Regions from separate parts of the Homo sapiens genome. Here all the other regions are linked to region 2. The links are contacts of gene promoters, found by promoter capture Hi-C in blood cells and fetal thymus (Javierre and others, 2016). All regions are on one chromosome and are shown on one strand. Each heading gives the region's core, a stretch centred on a gene start or on the middle of the fragment in contact. The rest is flanking DNA. Distances are from core to core; before and after follow the strand shown. Region 1 has its middle 63 kb from the start of MIR466. Region 2 holds the start of STT3B (STT3 oligosaccharyltransferase complex catalytic subunit B). Region 3 has its middle 47 kb from the start of MIR466.

What was found. Contacts are between HindIII fragments. The CHiCAGO score rates a contact against its expected background, and 5 or more counts as called.
Region 1: a contact is called between a fragment that was not itself captured here and the fragment with the promoter of STT3B in region 2, in 8 of 17 cell types (non-activated CD4 T cells, fetal thymus, naive CD4 T cells and 5 more). The highest score is 9.7, in non-activated CD4 T cells.
Region 3: a fragment that was not itself captured here is called in contact with the fragment with the promoter of STT3B in region 2 in 4 of 17 cell types (fetal thymus, non-activated CD4 T cells, naive CD4 T cells and 1 more); the score reaches 8.0 in fetal thymus.

The regions. Positions count from the first base shown.
Region 1 is chr3:31,223,780-31,226,692 of GRCh38, reverse strand. No RefSeq gene overlaps it. Among named protein-coding and RNA genes, the nearest start is that of MIR466, 63 kb to the right of the region's middle. The HindIII fragment of the contact is 700 bases long and covers 1,282-1,981 here.
Region 2 is chr3:31,531,478-31,534,498 of GRCh38, reverse strand. STT3B (STT3 oligosaccharyltransferase complex catalytic subunit B) reads right to left here and starts at 1,574. Exons shown (of 16, transcript NM_178862.3): 1 at 1,187-1,574. The coding sequence starts at 1,500. RefSeq lists enhancers at 842-901, 1,752-1,891 and silencers at 1,062-1,211, 1,292-1,421, 1,452-1,681, 1,992-2,251. The HindIII fragment of the contact is 5,534 bases long and covers 1-3,021 here.
Region 3 is chr3:31,207,073-31,209,772 of GRCh38, reverse strand. No RefSeq gene overlaps it. Among named protein-coding and RNA genes, the nearest start is that of MIR466, 47 kb to the right of the region's middle. The HindIII fragment of the contact is 4,070 bases long and covers 1-2,700 here.

The sequences.
Region 1 (2,913 bases), core at 382-2,881, 310 kb after region 2:
GGAAGTATTGCTATGAAATTGGGGGTCAGAGGAAGTGAGGACCCAGGATTTTCTCCCCTAAGGCCCCCCCCACCCCCACCACTTCACTGGGTGGCACCTCTTGCGTAGCAGCATATCATTCAGTTCTGTTGGCCACCTGCAGCTTCCTGGCCCTGATTAGTTACACCACATCCTCCCATATTCCTCCAACTGCAGGATGGTAGCAGCTTCCTGCAGTTGTTAATCTCTGTGCTGCCTCACTGTGTTCTGTTTGTCTCCTCAGTTATTATAACCCTTGGCTAAACCATTCTCTAGTAAAATTCCCCCCATGTGAGTGGAGCAAACGGTTCCTGGTTTCCTGGCTGGATCGGACTGATATGCCATGGCAGAGGTTAGCGAACTTTTTCTATAAAGGGTCAGATAGTAAATATTTTAGGCTTTGTGGGCCAGGAAGCAAAATCGAGGTACTAATTATGAAGGTATTTATATAACAAGAGGGAAAACAAATTTCCACAAGTTATTTTAGCTCACAGACCATACAAAAGCAGGTGCAGGCTAGAATTGGCCAGCAGGAAAGGACAAGATGAACCAGTTAACCAGCTACTCCAACAACCCAGGCAAGAGTGGGTGGTGACTTGGACAAGGATGTTGGCCCTGAGATGGTATATGGTGGTTGGCTTGGAGTCATATTCTCTGTCTTAAAGCCAGAGTGATTGTCCTGAAATACAAACCTGATCATGTCACTGAGTAAAACCATCCCAAAGTCCTAGATTGTTCACAACGTAGTTAGTGAGCTCTATGGACTCAGTAGCCATCTATTCCAAACCCCCATATGAGAACGCTAATGGGATGAGGAAGAACCAAGGAAAAGAGGGGGAAGTGGTGCAGTCTGTTTCTGTGTGGCAGCAGGGAAGAGGGATGAACAACAATTAATTTGGATGGATTTGGAGCTGAAAGGAGTTACTGTCTGTCTATAATTCTTTCCCTTCATTCCAGATTTCAGGACTTTCAAGGCCAGCAGTTTGAGGGATTTGCTGCTAGCCCAGTTAAATTAAAAAAGGTGAATGTGTATTTTCATGTAGAGCTCACTCTGATGGGAGAGGGTCATTGTCATTTTAAATTACAATTTACTTCCAGTGCAGTGTTACTTCTTTCCAATGAGTGTGTTACCCTCCAAGCATCCTGGGCCCCAAGAATGGCCTGGGGCACCCTTCTCACTCCTGACCCCACACAAGGCCCAGGCTCCTGGCACTTCTTTTCCTTAGTATGCAAGGAATTCCCATCCCACACACCTTTAAAGCTTAACCTGAGGCACATGGAGAGAAGTCCGGGATCTATAAACTTGGATTAAAAAATTATTTATTTTCACGAACATCCGAATGAAACTTAGCACTTCTTTCTGTGATAAATGTAGGTGAGAAACCCACCATAAAACAGTTCCAGGCCGGGCACAGTGGCTCACACCTGTAATCCCAGCACTTTGTTAGGCCGAGGTGGGTGGATCACCTGAGGTCAGGCATTCCAGACCAGCTTGGCCAACCTGGCAAAACCCCATCTCTACTAAAAATACAAAAGGTTAGCCGAGTGTGGTAGATGCGTGCCTGTAATTCCAGCTACTTGAGAGGCTGAGGCAGGAGAATCACTTGAGTCTGGGAGGCGGAGGTTGCACTGAGCAGAGATTGCACCACTGTACTCTAGCCTGGGCAGCTGAGTGAGACTCTATCTCAAAAAAAAAAAAAAAAAAGAATTAGCAGTTTCAGCACATATTATACAGATATTTTCATACCACACAGCTATTGTAGATATTTTGAAATATTCATTACTTCCATAAGTCTAAGTTATTGCACCCACCACTATATCTTATTAACGTTTAATAAAGACACACAACTATCAGTACATCACCAATTTTTTTTTAAATATCTTGTTAGCTGTATTCTTTTGTTATCCTTAGTATTTATTTTATATTCATAAAAACATTGTTCAGGGAAGGTGCTTATAAGCTTCACCAGTCTCCCAAATCCTAAAGAAGAGCCCAGTCCCACCCCTCAGTGTTTCCACTCACAAGAAATATCAGTGGATGGTGTTCGTCCCAGTTGGGGACAGGTATAAAGCCGAGTTCTCCTTCCTTAAGCACCTCATGCTTAAGAGGGAGCCAACTGTGCTCCCAGCCTTCTCCAGCACAGAAGCACTTAGTTAATTGTGCTGAACTCAGGGCCAGACCTCAGGGAGGGAGAAGCAGCTTGTCTGGGCCGCTTTGGCAATCAATTATTCCCCCAAGCAGAAAGATTGATAGCTTCTGCATATCTTGGCCCAGCTAATAATATCGCAGATGCTGTTTTAATTCCAAAGCACAGAGCCACCCCCAGACTTTCTTTTTAACCTCTCTGCCTAAAATGGGACGTAGTGGAGTGGCTTTCAGAGACAAAGTGACTATGCCACTTTGGGTCCATTTTAATACTTACGCATCATGATTCTGTTCATTTCCACAGCTCACCTACTTTCTGGCTACCAATTTGGATTTTATCCCACCCTTTGGTTACATTTCTCAATTTCATTTATTTATTTATTTATTTATTTATTTATTTATTTATTTTTTATTTTTTATTTTATTTTTTTTTCTTTAGCTCAAACAATCTCCTTCCCTGAATGTTCTGAAATTGCCTTTTCTCCTACTGGAAACCCCTGGATATTTTCTTGTCCTTCTCTGGACCTCTCTAATCCTTGATAGGGCTTGAGAAAACAGAGGTCTCTGAGTCTGAGCGATGGGCTGGGAGTGGGGAAATGGGAATTGGTTATTGTTTTCCTCCTGCTAGTTGTTCAGAGACACTTGCAACCCTGCAGGGCCCTGAAAAGACCTTTTGAACAGATTTCTCCATGACATTGCTGAGAACTTATCCCTGATAATATGGTCATTTCCAAGTTCAGCCTGAAAGC
Region 2 (3,021 bases), core at 325-2,824:
TGTGAGGAAGTAAGATTAACTCAAGGTTGACAGGTCAATAAGATAACACTAGTTTAAAAGGCATACTCTCAGAGGGGAAAATCCTAACTCAGGGGGAAAAATCCTAACTCGGGTTGGGCAAGTTGCGAAAAAAAAGTTAAAGCAATCTTTCCATCTAGATAATTCACAGACCAATGTAGTGTCTAAGTTAGCTAGTGTTGTTAAGAGTGGGGTAATTTCCTAAAACATTCAGGTCAGTCCCTTACACCATGTGCAACTTCGGTATTACAATCTAGGACTCCCATCACCGTGGTACTGTTTGCTCTTATCCACAAACCTTCCTGCAGACCAATAAAGGAACTAATGCAATGCTTTCAGATACTGTGCATAACACACTAAGGGTGACAGTGGCTAACAGGGTAAGGATCTTGTTCTAAAAAGCAACCCAAGACGATAGTGAAACAGTAAGGTGCTGAGTGCACTTAAGAGCTCTGAAAAAAAGCCACTCTTTAAAATACCTAATGATAAATAAATAAGAGTAGCTAGCTTTCAGATCACTTTCAGGGGTATTATTTCCTTCCCTCCAACACGCCATTCACTCTCCTTTTCCCTTCTCGTATCATGAGAGCATAAAAAGAAACAGTAAAAGCGTAAAACTGCAAGGGTGAGCAGCCGGGGTTCCGGCACATCTGGACCCACCTCCAGCGGCAACAGGGCAGCCCCCCTGGCCGATTCCGTCTGAACTAGCAAAAACGCGCCCGCAAATATGAAAGAACGCGAAAGCAGCGGGCGAGGAGGGCGGGGAATCGACCGACAGTCCGCGGAGGAGCTACCTGCCGCCTCCTGGCGTGGCGGGTCCGGACTCAGCGACCAAAGCGGGCTGCGAGGGACTGCACCCACACTCCCGGCGGCTGCACCCACACTCCCGGCGGCTGCATCCACACTCCTGGCAGTCTTCACACTAGCCCGGCCGAGAATCAAGGTTTCGCTCCTGGACCCCGACGCCCCGCCTCAGGCTGCACGGGGCAAACTTCGCCCACGGGCAGGGGGCGCGCCCGGAGCTCCGGGATCCGCGCCGGCCTCAGCCAGGACGCGAGCGGGGCTCCGCGGCGGCGCGGGGCCAAGTCGAGGAGAGCTGCGGCGGGCGGAGGAGCGGGTCCCGGTTCCCCGCGGGCCACGGGCGGGGGAGGGGCGGCGAGGCACTTACCACGGGTCGAACTCGTGGATGATGCTTTCGAAGCGGATGACGGCGAAGAGGCGCGAGCTGAAGCCGGCAAGCCAGGCCAGGAAGAGGATGGTGAAGGAGAGAAGCGACTGCCACCCAGCCGGCTGCGACAGCCCCCCGGACAGCCCCGCCGGGGCCGGCTTCGGCGGCGCCGCGCCGCCCGCCGCCTTGTGCGCGCACTGGGCCCCGGGCCCGTGGTGGCCGTGCCGGCTGTTTCCCAGGGCCATGAGGCCACTCCACGGGGACGAGTTGAGGGACGACTTGTGCTTGCTCTCCGGGGCCGAGGGCTCCGCCATGTTGTGCCCCGGCGGCGGGTCTAGCTCTCCTCCTCCGCCGCCGCCGCCTGGTGCGAGGGGTGCTGGGCGGGGACCCGGAGGAGGAGGAGGAGGAGGAAGAAAAAGGAGGAGGGAAGAGCTCTGCGCGCTCCCGCCCTCAGCGCCGCGAGGCCGGCGGACTGGGGGTGGAGGAAGCGGCGGCGGGGAGTCTCCGCCTCAGCAGCGGCCGCAATCGCCGCTCTCTCAACCCAGATGGCCCCGGCGCCCCACTAGCCATCCGTATCCCCAGTGCAGCTGCGGCGGCGGCGGCGAAAGCCGACGGGACGAGGGCGCCAGGAAAGAAGCAGCAGACGGAGGCGGCACCACGGCTCTGAGAAGCAATGACATTCCCTCTCTAGCCCGCCGCCCGCCCAGCCGAAAGGAGCAGGGGGAGGAGCCCCCTGGAGTCCGGGCGGAGCTCAAGCAACCTCTGACTCCGCCTCCGGCCCGACAGGAACTGGCCCCTCCGCCTGTCACAAAGCGACAGGTCCGTTAGGGGGCGGGCCCAGAACCGCTGCGCCCACCAATAGGGGCGCGAGCTGGGGCGGAGCTTGACCCAACCGTCTCCCCCTCCCCCCCACCATCCCGGCCTCGCGCCGATTCGCCCGGAGTGGCCGAGCTGCGCGGCTACGGCTTCATTGTCAGTTGAAAGACGCGGTTTCGCGCGCCTGTGCGGTCGGCGAGAAAGGGTACTAGGCGGCTCCGCTAGGTTCATGGAGCTGAGCTGGGCCGAGGGGCGGGAACTGCGGAGCGGCCTCGGTCAAACTCGTCTTAAAGGACGCGGAAAGCGCCGCACCGACCAGCAGGACGCTCGCGGGCTCTCCGCGGTCGTGACTTTTAACCCGCTTTGCGCGGAGCCCTCACCACGTGACGGCCGCGCAGGCGCATTATCCTAGCCCTCGGCGCGTGGGTCGGGCCGAGGGGTTCAGCAGCCCGTGGCGCTCCTCGGCTGGCGCTGCGAGTGAGCCCGCGGCGGCAGTGACACAGCCTACCTTGCTCATTGCCCTTCACGTCCCGCCTCCGGCTTCTGCGGCCGCGGGAATCCGAGAATGTGAGCAAAGACAAGTTTTCCGACACCGAAAACTCGTTGGAACCGGCAAGCGCGCCCCTAGCTCCGGCAGGCAAAATGCGACCTTCTCTCGCCCTTTTTCGTTTGTACTCCGAATTGCGAAAGTACTGTATGTTCACTGGAAATATGGGAAAATGCAGAAATACATTAACGGCTGCATACATTCCGTCGAGTGAGTGAAACTAACTTACCCTGGACGTTAAGCTGTTTCCAGTTCTCACTTTACTAAATAATAATAGAACGAAGGTTCTTGTGCACGTCTACCTTGTATTTTTATAATTCCTTTCCTTTCCCCACTTCCCTCCTTGTCCGCTAAAATAAAGTGCTACCAGATAAACTCAGGGCAAAATGAGCTTAAACTAAGTGAGGTAGTGGGGAGACTCGAATTGCTCTTATATAAACCCCATAGAAAGTACGGAGCTTTCGGCGTAATC
Region 3 (2,700 bases), core at 39-2,538, 320 kb after region 2:
CCTATGCAACAAAACTGCATGTTCTGCCCATGTAACACAGAACTTAAAGTATAAAAACAAAAACAAAACTTCCTATTCTTGCTCTTCCCCAGTCCCTGGCAATCATCATTCTACTTTCTGTTTCTATGAGTTTGACAACTCTAAGTACCTCATGTAAATGGGAGCATATAGTATCTGTCTTTTTGTGATTGGCTTGCTTCACTTAGCATAATATCCTTACGGTTCATCCATGTTGTAGGTTCATCCTTTTTATGGTTGAATAATATTCCATTACATGTATACACCACATTTTGCTTATTCATTCATTGGTTGGTGAAAACTGGATTGCTTCCACATTTAGCTGCATGGACATGGATGTTCAAATATCTACTGGAGACTCTGCTTTAAATTCTTTTGGGTACATACCCAAAAGTGGAATTGCTGGGCCATATGGTAATACTATTTTTTTTGTTTTTGTTTTTGTTTTTGAGGAACTGCTGTAATCTTTTCCATAGGGACTGTATCATTTTATAGTCCCACCACCAGTGCATAAGGGTTCCAATTTCTCCACTCTGACAACACTTATTATTTTCTGTTTTTTTGAGAGTAGCCATCCTAATGGATGTGAGGTGAGATTTTATTATATTTGCATTTCTCTAATGATTAGTGACGTTGAGCATCTTTTAAATATTTATTGGTTATTTGTATAATAGTCTTTGGAGAAATATCCACTGATGTCTTTTTCCTATTTTAAAAATTGAGGGTTTTTTATGGTTGTGGCTGATTTGGGGAATTCTGTATATGTTTTGAATATTAATCCCTTATCGGATATATGATTTGTAAGTATTTTTTCTCATTCTGTGAGTTGCCTTTTTTTTTTTTTACCTTGTTGATAGTGTCTTTCAATGCACAATAAAAAGATATGTTTAATAGACTCCAGTTTGTTTATTTTTTCTTTTGTTGCCTGTCTCTTGGATGTCATATCCAAGAAGTCATTGCTAAATCAAATGTCATAAAACTTTGCTCTATGCTTTCTTCTAAAGGTTTTATAGATTTAGGTCCTACCTAAGGTATTTGATTCATTTTGAATTAATTTTTGTATATACTGTTAGGAAAGGTTGGAACTTCATTCTTTTGCTTGTGGATATCTAGCTCAGCATAGTTTTTAATAAACATAGGCAAGTTTATTTTAAAATTTACATGGAAATGCACAGCACCTAGAAAGCTGAAATATTTTTTAAAAGAATAACTAATGGGAGAAAATTACCTCATATTAATGCTTACTATGTAGCTATAGTAATCAAGACAAATGTAGTGTTTGTGGAGGGACAGACAGGTAGATCAAGGGAACAGAATAGAGAACACAGATATAGACCCTTATAGATGACTGATTTTTTGACTATATTAGTCTATTCTCACACTGCTAATACAGACATACCCAAGACTGGGTAATTTATAAAGAAAAAGAGGTTTAATGAACTCACAGTTCCACATGGCTGGGGAGGCCTCACAGTCATGGCAGAAGGCAAAGGAGGAGCAAAGGCGTGTCTTACATGGTGGCAGGCAAGGGAGCATATGCAAGGGAACTGCCCTTTATAAAACCATCAGATCTTGTGAGACTTATTCACTATCACGAGAACAGTGTGGGAAAAACCTGCCCCATGATTCAACTGCCTCCCACCGGGTCCCTCCAGTGACATGTGGGTATTACGGGAACTACAATTCAAGATGAGATTTGGGTGGGGACACAGCCAAACCATAGCATCAACAAAGGTGCAATAACAATTCAGTGGGGGAAAAATGGTGTTTTCAACAAGAGGTGTTGGAGCAATTGGACATTCATGGGCTAACAATAGGAAAAAAAGAACCTCAATCTAAACCTCATACCTTATACAAAAATTAACTCAAAGTGGACCATAGGTTTACATGTAACATGTAAAACTATAAAACTTCTAGAAAAAAAAAAGAAGAAACTCTTGAAAACCTAAGGCTAGCAAAGCATTCTTAGACCAGTTAGCAAAAACATGATTCATTAAAGAAAAAAGTGATAAAAAGAGCTTCACCAAAACTAAAAACTTTTGCTCTGCAAAGACTCTGTTAGGGAGATGAAAAAACAAGCTATAGACTGGGAGAAAATATTTGCAACCCACATAGTTGACAAAAGACATACCTAGAACATATAAAGAGCTCTTAAAACTCAACAATAAAAATTGAACAAAGAATCCAATTTGATAATGGGAAAAATGCATGAACATATATTTCACTAACAAGAATATACAGATGGGAAATAAGCATGTGAAAAAGACGTTCAGCATTGTTACACATCCAGGAAATGCAATGCAAATTAAATTCACAATAAGATATAGCTACACATTTATTAGGGAAAGGCGTAGAGAAACTCATGTATTGCTGTGATAATGTAAAATGGTATAGTCACTCTAGAAAATTATTTGGCATCTTCTTATAAAACTAATATAGACCTAACATACAACCCAGAAATTACACTTTTGGACATTTATCCCAGACAAATGCAAAGTTATAATCATACACAAATCTACATTAATGTTCATAGCAGCTTTATTTGATACAGCTCAAGGCTGGAAACAATCCAAACATGTGTCAGTGGGTAATTGGTTGAACAAATTATAGCACATCTATACCATGGAATATTGCTAAGCAATAAAAAGGACCAAAGTGCTGATACATGCAACAACTTGCATA